5 separate regions of the Homo sapiens genome follow, and regions 1, 2, 3 and 4 are each linked to region 5. Evidence: promoter capture Hi-C in 16 types of primary human blood cells and fetal thymus (Javierre and others, 2016). All regions are on one chromosome and are shown on one strand. The core of a region is centred on a gene start or on the middle of the fragment in contact, and the rest is flanking DNA. Distances in the headings are between cores, read along the strand shown. Region 1 has its middle 3.6 kb from the start of TRE-TTC4-2. Region 2 overlaps MPZ (myelin protein zero). Region 3 has its middle 4.3 kb from the start of OLFML2B. Region 4 has its middle 22 kb from the start of OLFML2B. Region 5 holds the start of DUSP12 (dual specificity phosphatase 12).

Region 1 (2,700 bases), core at 200-2,699, 330 kb before region 5:
GATTCTCCTGCTTCAGCCTCCTGAATAGCTGGGATTACAGGCACAAGACACCATGCCCAGCTAATTTTTGTACTTTTAGTAGAGATGAAGTTTCACCATGTTTCACCATGTTGGCCAGGCTGGTCTTGAACTTCTGACCTTAAATGATCTGCCCACCTCGGCCTCCCAAAGTGCTGGGATTACAGGTGTGAGCCACCAGCCTGGCCTCTAGTTATTTTTTACATAATGTTCAGCATACAATAAAAATTAGGAGACATGTGAAGAGAAAGGAAAATGTGACCAATGGTCAAGAGAAAAAAGAAAACAGTAGAAGCAGAAACAAATATAAGCCAATTGTTTAAGTTCACAGGCAAGAACTTTAAAATAATCACAATTTTATTTTTAAAAAATAGAGGAAAAGATGGAAAGTAGATGAGAAGAATTTCAACAGAGAATTGGAATAGAGACAAAAACTTCTAGAACAGAACCCTCTGAATGGGTTTAACAGCAAATTGGACACAGCAGGAGACAAGATTAGTGAATTCAAAGACAGATCAATAGGCTGGGCACTGTGACTCACACCTGTAATCCCAGCACTTTGGGAGGCTGAGGCGAGTGAATCAGCTGAGGTCAGGAGTTTGAGACCAACCTGACCAACATGGTGAAACCCTGTCTCTACTAAAATACAAAATTAGCCGGGCGTGGTGGTGGGTGCCTGTAATCCCAGCTACTCTGGAGGCTCAGGCAGAAGAATCGCTTGAACCCGGGAGGCGCAGGTTGCAGTGAGCCGAGATCACACCATTGCACTCCAGCCTGGGCAATGAGTGAGACTCTGGCCTCAATACAGAAAGAAAGAGAAGGGAGGGAGGGAGGTAGGAAGGAAGGAAGGGAGGAAGGAACCAACCCATATTGAAGCACACACACGAGTTGAGCCTGAGACCTTGGTCAAGAACCAAACCTAACAATACTCTGGCTAAAGAGTGAGGGGACTGTGGGCATGGGGGAATGCCTCCCCACAGATTCCCATCCACGACCCTTGGCCTGATGACCACAGCATCTCAGTAATGCTTCTGTAGTCCAGTATCATTTCTTCTTTCTGAAATACATACATACATACATACATATATATATATATATATTTATTTATTTATTTGTTTATTTTTTGAGGCAGAGTCTTGCTCTGTCACCCAGGCTGGGGTGCAGTGGCATGATCTCAGCTAACTGCAACCTCTGCCTCCCGGGTTCAAGTGATTTTCCTGCCTCAGCCTCCCAAGTAGCTGGGATTACAGGCATGCACCACCATGCCTGGCTAATTTTTGTATTTTTAGTGGAGATGGGGTTTCACCATGTTGGCCAAGCTGGTCTGGAACTCCTGACCTCAAGTGATCTGCCTGCCTCAGCCTCCCAAAGTGCTGGGATTACAGGCATGAGCCACTGCACCCGGCCTGAAATACATGTTTAAAAGAAAAATGTTGATCGTTTACTCAAAGGGGTAAATTAAGAATGGTAGTGAGCTCCTAATATCGCTAGCCACAATTCTCAAGGGAAGCAAATGGGGAGGCCAAACATCTGGTTGCTAACCTCATCAGCACCTGATGGGTAGGGAGGCTGCGCGAAGGCTGATGTCCACTGAGGAATTCTGAAATGCTCCTTAAGGGGACTAGGCCCACCCATGTTGAGAATCACTAATGTATACTTGTGTTTAATTTTTTCTCTATTTCTTCTTCTTTTTCTTTTTTTAAGAGATGTTATGCTATGCTACCCAGTCTGCTCTCAAACTCCTGGGGTCAAGCGATCCTCCTGCCTTGGCCTCCTGAGTACGTTTAATTTTGCCACGGAAACATGCAGTCTCTCAGGAATATTCTAAATCTAGAATGGGTGGATTAGCACAGTCATAGTATTAGTAATTAATAAAACTTTCCCCCACTTTGAAATCCTGAAAGTAGTTAAAATCATGGAGTTCTAGGCAGTCCGGTATTAGCAGCCCTTGACCTTTGCATTGGCAGCTGTCACCAGGTGTTTAATGTGGCTTATTAGGGAAGTCCAGAGCCAGCCAATACTTTACTGAGCTTGTAAACTCATAATCCGTTTAGATTTTTTTGTAAAATAAAAACCATATATCTATATGGTAACGAATTGGTTAATTGTAAGCCAGGAAATAAAATGTATAAACAAAAGTGAAGTGGTAACAAATTAGTTAAATGGCAGGGGGATCAAATCCAGATCTGTCAGGACAGAAGGGAATACTCACCAACTATGCTAATGAGGAAGGAGATGAATCTAAAGTCAACAACATCTCCTCTAACTGCCCACTTTTACACTGGGCCCAGATAGGTAGGAAGCATTGATTGCTCATGCCCCATTTGCTCCCAGGCCACCACCTAGTCTGACCCTTTGCTGGCAGGACAGAGCGAGAGGCCAGCATCAGAGTGGCCATTTGTGAAAATGCCAGAAACGTTGTCTACTCTCCACCCCACCCCATCTCCCACAAAACTCACCTGTGCCATGCAAGACTGTGGCAGATGGTTGGAATTCCAGGCGCTACTGCTCTTCATCCTTCTAGGGAGGCAGATGTCAGGGCAGAGGCCTGGGAAGTGTGAGGCTGCTGGATCCAAGAGTGGGGGCAGGTGGAGCAGAGGTGAGGTTTGGCCTTTTGGAAGCACTGGGTCACGAAAATCCAACCACGTGCTTTGACCAGATTCGTTTCCTGCTCAGATTCTG
Region 2 (2,700 bases), core at 201-2,700, 440 kb before region 5:
AGCACTAGAAACAAATATTGAACACCTTAATATTTAGTTGTATATCAACTTACAGTTTACAAAGTTTTCCATACACAGGATCTCATTTGATTATTATAAAATCCCTAGGAATTAAGCAGGGCAGATATCATTATCTCAGTTGTTTACAAGTACATAAACAAGCTTACCAAAGTCAGGTAACTGTCCTGGGGATCACACAGCTAGAGAGTGGCTGGGATGTTTTAAAATTCAGATCTTGGTGAAGACAGATTCTGCGTTTTAACTCATGTAAAAGCAGAGACTGGCAGAGTTTACAACGTAGTATAATCTCACTGATTATTTGCTGAAGGTATGAATGTGTCTTGTGAGGCTATTTCAGAGTTCTTTCTAGTATACTATATAAGCCCACCCCAAAAAAACAAACTAAACAACTGAAGCCAAGTATGGAAGGTTGGGGATGGGATAAGGGGCAGGAATTATTCCCAGGAGGACTAGGAAATTCTAGACAAGGCAGCAGCTTCTGGAAATGTCAGTGTTTATTAAACATTTAAGGACATTTGGAGGTTTGAGAAGAAATATACAGAATGTAGAAAAATCCTAAGAATCCCCTGTGGCTGCAGTGCAGCCTCTTCCTCCCCCCCGCCCCCCCATTTCCCATTTGTTTTTCCTGCTTTTTGTTTGGTTGTTTAAAAACCATTTCTTAAGGCTCATTTGCCCCCTCCCCCACTCCCTGACCTATGAGGATCCATTCTCTCTCTCTGTCTCTCTCCTCAAGACCTGGAGTCCCAGAACAGTGCTCCAAAGTGGTCAGGGGGAACCAATGCTATACTGAAGTGTGAGGATCAGGGGCCCCTCTACTTGGGCTGGCTCTTCATTAAGGACTTAAGGGGGGCGTGAATTGCAAAAGCCACATGACGTCATTGGTCCTCAGTCATGGGTGTAAGGGCAGAGGATGAGCACAGGTAAACAAACAAAGAATGGATTAAAAAATAAAAAATAATAACCTAAATAAACCCTGAAGGAGAGTCTGATCTGGGTGCTCTGGGTATTAGCTGGGGGGACAGAGTATGGAGCTGGGCCACCTGGTAGAGGGGAGGGAGGGACGGGAGAGGAAACAGCCAGGGGGACAGGCTGGGGGATGCAGGAGATGGGAATGCCAGGTGGCCTGGACTTGAGGCAGAGGGTATCAAAGTCCCTTTCTTCTCAGTGCTCAGGTGGACAGGCACCAAACACACAGCCCCCGGGGCAGGTGAGGGGTAGGATTAGCTCCTGGGCTCCCAGAAAGCCAGGGGTGAAGGTGGGGGAGAATACAATTGCCTGGGGAATGAATTCTGGAATGAAACTTACATCTCAAAGGGAGGTGAGGGCAGGGCAGGGCGGGGGAGCAAAGAGGGAAAGCACCTAGACGGGGGTAAGAGGAGCCTAGGTCCCCCTGCTCTGGCAGGGCCTGGGGTGGGGGGGTGGCGATCACTTGTCCGAGTTCAGGCCCATCATGTTCTTGAGGGCGTTTTTGAGGCTGGTTCTGCTGGGGGACTTGACAGCAGGCCGGAGCTCCGGGCTCTGCTCATCCTTTCGTAGCTCCATCTCGATGACCATCACCTTTGGGCCTTTGGCGGACTCCACCCCTAACCCCCGATCCCCCGCCCGGCCCGCTAACCGCTATTTCTTATCCTTGCGAGACTCCCCCAGCCCCTTGGCCTTCTTCTCACTGACAGCTTTGGTGCTTCTGCTGTGGTCCAGCATTGCATACAGCACTGGCGTCTGGGGGAGGGGCGCACACATCAGTCACCGAGCGACTGGGGCTTGACTGTTCCCATCCCACCCCTCACTGCTGCCCGGCGGCTCCCAGGGTTCTCCTTCCCATCTTGTCTAGGCCCCAAGTCCCGCTAACCTGCCGCCCGCGCTTCGACGCGTCCTTTCCTGGCTTGTGCAATTTCCCCTTCTCCATAGCACTGCAAGAAGAGAGACTGCTGTACGTTTGGCCTCGCCGGAACCCCTTGCACCGCGGACACAGCTTCCTCTTCCCCTTGGCCCTCCCACCCACTGGAGTAGTCTCCGCCCAGATGGGGGATAGTGGGGAGAGGGGGAGGGGAGCTAGGCTCCGCCCCTTACCTGAGCCTCCTCTGCAGGGCCGCCTGCCTGCGTAGCCAGCAGTACCGAACCACGTAGAAAAGCAGCAGCAGCAACAGCACCACCCCGAGGACACCCCCGATCACAGCTCCCAGAACGACCCCGTACCTAGTTGGCACTAGGAGGGGTGGGAAAAGAAGTGGGAGAATGAGCAGGGCCCTGTATCTGTGGTTCCTAGTCCGAGTGTATGCCCTGCATTGAGGATGTAGGACTCCCAGCTAAAACTGCCTTCTGCCCACGCTCCCAGAGCCTGAATAAAGGTCCTTAGGCCGGGCTTTTTGCCTCTTCCCCCAACCTATCAGTCCTCCCTGATCCCCTCCCAAACTGCTTCCCATACCCTTGTCCCCATCCCTTCTCACACCTTTTTCAAAGACATACAGCGTGACCTGAGAGGTCTTGCCCACTATGTCTGGAGGGTTTTTGACGTCACAAGTGAACGTGCCATTGTCACTGTAGTCTAGGTTGTGTATGACAATGGAGCCATCCTTCCAGCGAGGGTCCCCTACCCACTGGATGCGCTCTTTGAAGGTCCCCACCTCGTCAATGTAGGGTTGTCCCTTGGCATAGTGGAAGATCTATGAGGAATGAGGG
Region 3 (2,700 bases), core at 38-2,537, 280 kb after region 5:
GGAGATGGGAGGAGACCCTTGAATCCATCTCTCCAAGGAGCTCTGGGCTGGCGTTTTAATTTAAGGGGATTGTGGAGAGTGAGTGGCTAAAAAATTGAGGTTATTAATTGGTTGGGCCAAGACGATGGAACAAAGTTCTATCATCAGGATGTGGAAACTGCCTTCTTTGGTGAGTCAGGATCTCATGGGGTCCTTCAAACTAGCTGAGTCAGTAGCTTCATCAGTATGCAGGACCCAAAAGAGTATCTCAAAGGGAAAACATAATGTTTCATAATGTTCAAGTTGTTTTCTATAGAACAGTTAAGGGGCTTTATAATCTTTTAACAGGATCTATGTGATTCTGAGGCAATAGGCACAGAGTAACTATGAGGAAACAGGTCAGAGAGCAAGTAGACCTCACGATTACTGCTGAATGTGCTGTGAACTTGGTTTATTTTCATTTCTTCCCTTTCCTTCTTCCCTGGTTAATTTTATAAAGTTTATAGGGGCTGTTTCAAAAGTGCCAGGAGCTGTGGCAGCCATCTTATGACCATGAGTCCTTTCTCTTATCTAACTAAAATATATTTCCTTTAGGGTCTACTTTTAAAGTCACCTTTTAATGTCCAGTCCTACAGTCCTACACAGAATATGTCTAAGGACTTTCTCACGGAGAGTTTCATTCCTTTCACTTAAAGATAAATAGTTAAGTACTGGCCGGGCATGGTGGCTCACGCCTGCAATCCCAACACTTTGGGAGGCCGAGGCAAGTGGATTACTTGAGGTCAGGAGTTCAAGACTAGCCTGGCCAACATGGCAAAACCCTGTCTCTGTTAAAAATACAAAAATTAGCTGGGCCTGGTGGCACACGCCTGTAATCCCAGTTACTTGGAAAGATAAGGCAGAAGAATCACTTGAACCGGGGAGGCAGAGGTTGCAGTGAGCCGAGATCACACCAATGCACTCCAGCCTGGGCAACAGAGAAAGACTCTGTCAAAAAAAAAAAAAAAAAAAAAAAGGTTAAGTACCTTCTAAATATCCTCTTTCTCAACATCACTAGCCCACTTTCTTCATCTTTTATCTCCATTATATTCAACTGTTTCTCAAACCACATGGCCTTCCAAACTCTTCATTATTTTGGTTATTTTCTCTCTAGAAAGACTCCAGTTTGAGTAGATATTAGAACCTATTGAAACAATTTGTTCTTTTTTTTTCTGGGCACTGTGCTTTTATTAATGCAGCCTAAGATTACCTTAGTTTTGGCAGCCAGATTGCACCAACGACTCACACTGATTTATCTTTTAAGTGTAGTTTTTAAATTTATTTTTGTGTGAATTTTTTACTGGTTTCCTCCATTCTGTGCTTTCCAGCTATGTTCTCTCTTTTTTTTTAATCCAAGTATAGGTGTTTACATTTTTACTGTAACAGTGTGATGATTTTGGTCCATTTTTTCATCCTGTTGAAATATTGCTATTTTTGCTTTTGTCCTGGTTTTGCATAATTTCCAAATTCACTAAGCATAGTTTCTGTCTTAGTTCAAATGATTAATTTTAAAAAGCCATCTTCCTTCAGATAGGGCCATATTCTAGAGCTCTACCTCCATAATAGGAAAAGTCTCTCCTTATTGATGTTAACCGTTTTGGTGTATGACTGTTCAGGCAGTCATGGGTGTTGGTGCCTAGTCCACATGTCTTCATCATGTCTACAAGCATTTCTTGAGAGACTTTTATCACTGTCTTTCAGAAATCAAGATACACTGCTCATGGCATTGCTTCTACCTGCCTGCCTGGCAACCTGAACTGATGATTCTGTGATGAGCTTGGTTTGGCTTTAGCAAATTGGGTTAAGTGCTTTTTACTTGTGTTAAAAAAAAAAAAAACATAGCTGGAAAGCACAGGATAGAGGAAACCGGCATAAAATTCACATAAAAATCCCTGCATCTTTTGCTCAGAGCCTATGAATTCCACGTCACTGGATCCTCGCATCATGGTGTAAAATAAGTCTTGCCCTCCCTGGTTAACAGATGAAGTCATTGAAGCACCAACACAGTGATATGTATGATGGCGACTCTGTACTGAGTGCTTCCCATGTGCCAGGCATCATTTGACGGTCAGAAATCCCCTGAGTCAGTATCATTTCCTCTTACAAATGAGGAAACAGGTTTAGAGACGGACAGACTGTGGAAATGTTCCAAGAACTGGGTCTCAGAAAGCCGTAAGTGTGCCACTTCATCTATCTTAGACCCTGGACCTCACCAGTTGTGGCTGGCTAGCAGGTTGTTGAATTCTGGGGATCCCTCAGCAACCACAACCACCATCCCTCACGAGCCAGTTTGCATCTGGCAAGAGCATCTGTTTTCCCGTTTACCTAGGAGCCTCCTGACTTTGCTCTGAAATGTCTGTCTGTTGAAAATTAAGGCTTCATTTGCCAGGTGGGGCCAAGGTGGCTAGAAATGGCCTGCCACCTTTGTGTGTAATTGAGAAAATGCACCTGCCCCACGGCAGCAGAATCAAAGAGCAAGGCAAAGTCCCACGAGCAACATCATTCTGCCATCTCCTTTCCCTGGCTCGCTGCAGAGTGGGAGCTGTGCCAGGGAACTGCCATAAAAATGCTGGAAAGGAATGATGGAAAGCACAACTGAAAATGAGGTCTTTTTTCCCCTGGTCACCCTGCTTTGCTGCTTTCCTGGCTTCTTATTTTGCCTCTGATCTTCTACATTCTCTC
Region 4 (2,700 bases), core at 112-2,611, 300 kb after region 5:
GACATGAATTTTAGGGGACATTATTCAACCCAATATAGCTAACCAACCAAGAGTGGAGAAAACATGGAATCATAAAAAAATTTAATAAATGAGTTGATTATTAGAGAGTAGACAACCTCCTCAGGTATGAAAAACAATATAGTTAAATCTCTATCAATTTTAACTTGGCTAACTAGTTAAAATGCCCAGTTGGTGAGTGGAAGGCATGATTTGTTTATTTATGCCCATCTAGTATCCATTTTCTTCTTTTTTCTTGCTCACAGTGATCCACCTCTGTCTCAGTGATTCATTGGATGGTAACCCAAAATCCTGCTCAGAATTAAGTCATAGTTGGCTTAAACTGCTGGTGTTGGTCCCATTTTCTTGCCAGTCACTTATTTAGAGGTGAGCATTTTTGGCCAATTATTGGCCAATGAAATGTGGTGGACATGACTGAGATTTTTCTGGGAAAAGTTTTTCTTGCCTCTAACGAATACACGTTAGGGGGCCCGGTGTGGTGGCTCACGCCTGTAATCCCAGCACTTTGGGAGGCTGAGGTAGGCAGATCACCTGATGTTGGCAGATCACCCGAGGTCAGGAGTTCGAGACCAGCCTGGCCAACATGGTAAAACCCCATCTCTACCAAAAATACACACACACAAAAATTACCCGGATGTGGTGGCAGGCACCTGTAATCCCAGACACTTAGGGGGGCTGAGGCAGGAGAATCTGTTGAACCTGAGAGGCAGACGTTGCAGTGAGCTGAGATCAAGCCATTGCACTCCAGCCTGGGCAACAAGAGTGAAACTCCATCTCAAAAATAATAATAATAATAATAAAATAAGAAATATGCCTAGGAGAAGCAATCCCTTTCCTATCTCTGAGTATTTTTGTGTTTGAGTGCCATGTTTAGAATTTGAATGGCTGCAGCCATCTTGCTACCAGGAGAACCACAAAGAAGAAGAGTTGGACCTGGTGCATGATACATGGAAATTCCCAACCTCCAAACATCTTATTATAGGGAAAAATACATGCCTTTTTTTGTGAAGGCCAAAATGAATGAGGATTATCTGTTTTTGCTGCTAAAAGTATTCTAATCAATGGAGTAGGTCTACACAAGGCCTGGGTGAATAAGCCCAAATTTTCATTAATCACAACTGTATGAATGGGAGATACTTCCCATTCTAGGACTACACTCATGCATCTTTTGAGGGCCAAGAATGAACCAGAAAACTCCTACCAACATAAAGATGAAGATTGCCTGCCTTTGACAAATGTCTTAAATATTTCATATCTAGTTACGAGTTGTAATTTTTTGTGTTAATTTTCTTTTTTTTAATTTGAGATGGAGTCTTGCTGTGTCGCCAGGCTGGAGTGAAGTGGTGCGATCTCGGCTCACTGCAACCTCCGCCTCCCAAGTTCAAGCAATTCTCCTGCCTCAGCCTCTTGAGTAGCTGGGACTACAGATGCACACCACCACGCCCAGCTAATTTTTGTATTTTTAGTAGAGATGGGGTTTCACCATGTTGGCCAGGATGGTCTCAATTTCTTGACCTCGTGATCCACCTGCCTCGGCCTCCCAAAGTACTGGGATTACAGGCGTGAGCCACTGTTCCTGGCCTGTGTTAATTTTCTTTTTCTTGGTCACATATTTAGCCTACAACTTAACTGTATGGTATGGTGACTGTATCAATCACATATCTTCATATGTAAATGTCTTACAAAACATCTTTTATGTAGGTAATTGTGTAAGAGTAAGATGAGGGTAAATCTGACATTATGATAGTACTGATGTCATAATAAGGAAAAAATTTGATATTTAAATCTTCCAATCAGAATTTTTTAATCTTATATTTTCATTTTGAAAATATTCTAAAAGTCAGATGTAAGGTATTCTAGAACATATAGAATACTTCAGTGAGATTTAAAAGTGCTCATTTACATGTGCATTTATGATTATGTTGTCACCCAGTGATCCCTAAGTGACAGTGCTTGATTTTTAATGTATTGATAATAAAGTTTGATATATCCTAATGTCAAAGTGGCAATTGACCCATGACTGTTATTGTGGTCATGTTAAATTCTTTTAATAGTTTAAGGACAAAACTTTTCTTCTGCAATGATAATTTATGCTGCAACATCATTGAGTCTTCTCTTGGCATAAATGCATTATTCATATTTTTTTAAGGAATTGAAACTCCTGAATATAGTGTTGATGCCTTAAGTGCAGATTATTTTGAATTCAGCTGCGTGTGCTATTGAATGCCTTGGCATGATTCAGTTCTGCCCCCATTTTTCTCTGTCTGAACTACTAAGAAGACTCTATTCCCTGTGACTTCATTGAACTCCACTGGGCTTATATGAAGATGCAAATGCAGACACAAACCTTGAAATATGTGGCAATATTTGATTATATGTTGGTGTTCCAGATGATCCCCAAATATCCTTTTTATTGCTCTTCCTTTTAAAAATGAAACAGAAGCTCAGAAATGTGAACTAATGTTTCGAGGTGGCATAACTACTAAACAGCAGAACCATAATTTGAATTTAGGTATTTTGGCTGCAGTTACAGTGCTTTTCCCATGAGTGTTTCCCAAGGTGATATGCATACTACTGGTGATATATCCGATAATCTTAGGTGATAAGTGGGCAAACATTTTTAACAGTTTTCTAGTTAAATGTTGTTAGAAAATATAATTAATTATACATCAAAACTGCTTC
Region 5 (2,700 bases), core at 140-2,639:
TGTTGAGGAGATTGTCCTTTTTCCATTGTGTGGTCTTGGCACTCTTTTTGAAGATTATTCTAACATATATGCAGTGTTGCAGGTGATTAGCAGCTTTCTGGGCTGGTGACATGGGTGGTAGGAAGAATTTACCAACACAGTTGTAGGTAAAGAAAGGCAGGTTTATTAGATAAAGTATGAAAATACATTGCAAGGGTGCAACAGGCAGGTCAGCAAGAGAGAAGCTGACTGCTAGGAAACAAAGGCTTGCTGGGGATTTTGTAGAATGGTGCTTATGTTGTGGGTGGAAGAGGGCTTTGTGCAGTACTAATAATGCCAGGGTTGCAGTGAACTAACTTCCATTTTTCTATCAGCTGAGGGTCTGGTGATGGCTGGGCACAGGCAGATTGTGAGTTATTTGCACAGCAGGGCTATGTGTCCTGGACCACGAAGAAAGGCAGACTTATGGCTTGTCTGCTTTCTCCTTTTGCTTCCCTTCGTCCAGCCAGCCTGACTCCTTTTCCCTAATTAGGACTCCACACGCAAGGGTTTGTTCTGTTCCAGAATAGAGACACGTCGATGTATCTATCTTTATACCAGTACTATAGCTGCTACTTCTTGACCAATTACAGCTTTAGTATCTCTCTCACCTGTCCTCCCTATACAAAAGATATATAAAATATACTCACTGTACTGAGTATCTTCCTGCAGCATTCAGTCTGGAGCAAAGCCTGCTTCCTTCAACCCTTTCCAAAATCCCCAAATAAAAGCCCAAAATCTGTAGAGGATCTTCCTAACATCCTCGTGCTGAGATGCCCTGAAATTCTCCATAACTCATGACTGAGTAATAAAACCAACTTGCTTAATTAAAGTTGGTTTCTTGTAGTCCTGGCCGGAGGACATTGACTTACAAAAATATAGGATTAGTATCTTCAAAATAAATAGACAGTAAACATCAACAAGGATTCACACCCCAATAATGAAATTGGGCAGAAAAAGGAAAAATAATCATGAAATGCACAGTAAAGATGGCTCCATAATATTGAAAAAAATTTTACTTCAAATGCATAAAATGATGCTTCTGATTCAGCTGGTGCGACATTTATTTCACATTTGAGTTCAGCTGCTCCTGATGTCTCTTTCCTGAAAATTTCAATACTAAGAGCTCGAGAAACCCTGTATTTGGGGAAGCTTATCCTTCACCATCAACTTTGGGGGTAGGGGTCAGAGGGAACAAGGGTGGAAAGGCCGCGCTGAATGGGGCCGAAGCTCCGCCCCTCAGCGATAAGTCCAGATTCCTGCGGCCGACGTGGTCCTCCGAGGGAGCAGCAGAGCCGCCGAGGCTGGCGAGTCCCAGGGGAAGGATGTTCTAGCCGGAGTCTACTCGATGGTAGGGCAGGAAGCCGCCTTGTCTCTGGGCGCGGCCATGTTGGAGGCTCCGGGCCCGAGTGATGGCTGCGAGCTCAGCAACCCCAGCGCCAGCAGAGTCAGCTGTGCCGGGCAGATGCTGGAAGTGCAGCCAGGATTGTATTTCGGTGGGGCCGCGGCCGTCGCGGAGCCAGATCACCTGAGGGAAGCGGGCATCACGGCCGTGCTAACAGTGGACTCGGAGGAGCCCAGCTTCAAGGCGGGGCCTGGGGTCGAGGATCTATGGCGCCTCTTCGTGCCAGCGCTGGACAAACCCGAGACGGACCTACTCAGCCATCTGGACCGGTGCGTGGCCTTCATCGGTCAGGCCCGCGCTGAGGGCCGTGCGGTGTTGGTGCACTGGTGAGTGGCCGGGTCAGTGGGTGACGTGCCCCGCCAAGCTTCCAGCCGGCCCCCGTCGCCCCTTACCTTCCGAGGCCGTCGGGAGGACAAGAGCGCGGTCATGCCGCGTGAACCTCCTCCCGCTGCCTCCCGCAGGAGGCGTGTTTCCAAGAGAGGAGGAGGGTTGAGGCGGGCCCCTGGTGTGTGCAGGCTTTCATTCATTCATGCTTTAGTTGGTTCTTCCTGCAGCAGCAGAGGGCGGGGGAGGTGTCATCTGATAAATGACAAATTACCTACACCCTAAGGAGTTTACAGCTCTGTTGGAGAAGCTAGACACCCACCCCGATTATTGTAATGCAGATTAGGTTGCTTGGTGTCTTGTAAACGGGATTTACAAAGATTTAGGGTTAAATGTTTTTGTTTGGGATGGGTGGCGGGTGGTTGATGAAGAGATGAATTGGTTTGGATCTAAAGGATCCCTGGGCTTTGCCTAGGGAGGAGATGGTTGCAGCAAAGACAAAAAGAAAATGGGAATCCCGCAGGGCGCGGTGGCTCACGCCTGTAATCCCAGCACTTTGGGAGGCAGGAGGATCACAAGGTGAGGAGTTCGAGATCAGGCTGGCTAATATGGTGAAACCAAAAATACAAAAATTAGCCGGGCGTGGTGGCTCTCGCCTGTAGTCCCAGCTACTCGGGAGGCTGAGGCAGGAGAATCACTTGAACCTGGGAGGCGGAGGTTGCAGTGAGCCGAGGTCATGCCACAGCACTCCAGCCTGGGCAACAGAGCGAGACTCCATCCCTCCCCCCAAAAAAAGAAAATGGGAATCCCTAAGCAGTTCTTGGTTGGATTGGAGTATAATAATCGTTTAAATTTATTGAGCACATAAAAGAAGATAGTGATGAAATCAAAAGAAGTCTGGGACCAGATTTTGAGGTCCCTGAATGCTAAGATGAAAGGAGATTGGATTTGTT

What was found. The method cuts DNA at HindIII sites, captures the fragments that hold promoters and counts their contacts. A CHiCAGO score of 5 or more calls a contact.
Region 1: a fragment that was not itself captured here is called in contact with the fragment with the promoter of DUSP12 in region 5 in 1 of 17 cell types (neutrophils); the score reaches 5.6 in neutrophils.
Region 2: a fragment that was not itself captured here is called in contact with the fragment with the promoter of DUSP12 in region 5 in 1 of 17 cell types (erythroblasts); the score reaches 7.1 in erythroblasts.
Region 3: a fragment that was not itself captured here is called in contact with the fragment with the promoter of DUSP12 in region 5 in 12 of 17 cell types (naive CD4 T cells, M0 macrophages, M1 macrophages and 9 more); the score reaches 15.2 in naive CD4 T cells.
Region 4: a fragment that was not itself captured here is called in contact with the fragment with the promoter of DUSP12 in region 5 in 3 of 17 cell types (total CD4 T cells, endothelial precursors and naive CD4 T cells); the score reaches 6.6 in total CD4 T cells.

What each region holds. Positions count from the first base shown.
Region 1 is chr1:161,417,192-161,419,891 of GRCh38, forward strand. It overlaps the pseudogene COMMD6P1. Among named protein-coding and RNA genes, the nearest start is that of TRE-TTC4-2, 3.6 kb to the right of the region's middle. The HindIII fragment of the contact is 3,388 bases long and covers 1-2,700 here.
Region 2 is chr1:161,304,238-161,306,937 of GRCh38, forward strand. MPZ (myelin protein zero) reads right to left here. Exons shown (of 6, transcript NM_000530.8): 3 at 2,471-2,684; 4 at 2,092-2,227; 5 at 1,871-1,931; 6 at 498-1,740. The coding sequence ends at 1,639. Among named protein-coding and RNA genes, the nearest start is that of MPZ, 4.4 kb to the right of the region's middle. The HindIII fragment of the contact is 2,580 bases long and covers 161-2,700 here.
Region 3 is chr1:162,026,829-162,029,528 of GRCh38, forward strand. No RefSeq gene overlaps it. Among named protein-coding and RNA genes, the nearest start is that of OLFML2B, 4.3 kb to the left of the region's middle. The HindIII fragment of the contact is 3,406 bases long and covers 1-2,700 here.
Region 4 is chr1:162,044,925-162,047,624 of GRCh38, forward strand. No RefSeq gene overlaps it. Among named protein-coding and RNA genes, the nearest start is that of OLFML2B, 22 kb to the left of the region's middle. The HindIII fragment of the contact is 3,967 bases long and covers 1-2,700 here.
Region 5 is chr1:161,748,397-161,751,096 of GRCh38, forward strand. It overlaps DUSP12 (dual specificity phosphatase 12), which reads left to right and starts at 1,390. Exons shown (of 6, transcript NM_007240.3): 1 at 1,390-1,749. The coding sequence starts at 1,406. RefSeq lists enhancers at 1,189-1,698, 1,760-2,406. The HindIII fragment of the contact is 617 bases long and covers 1,169-1,785 here.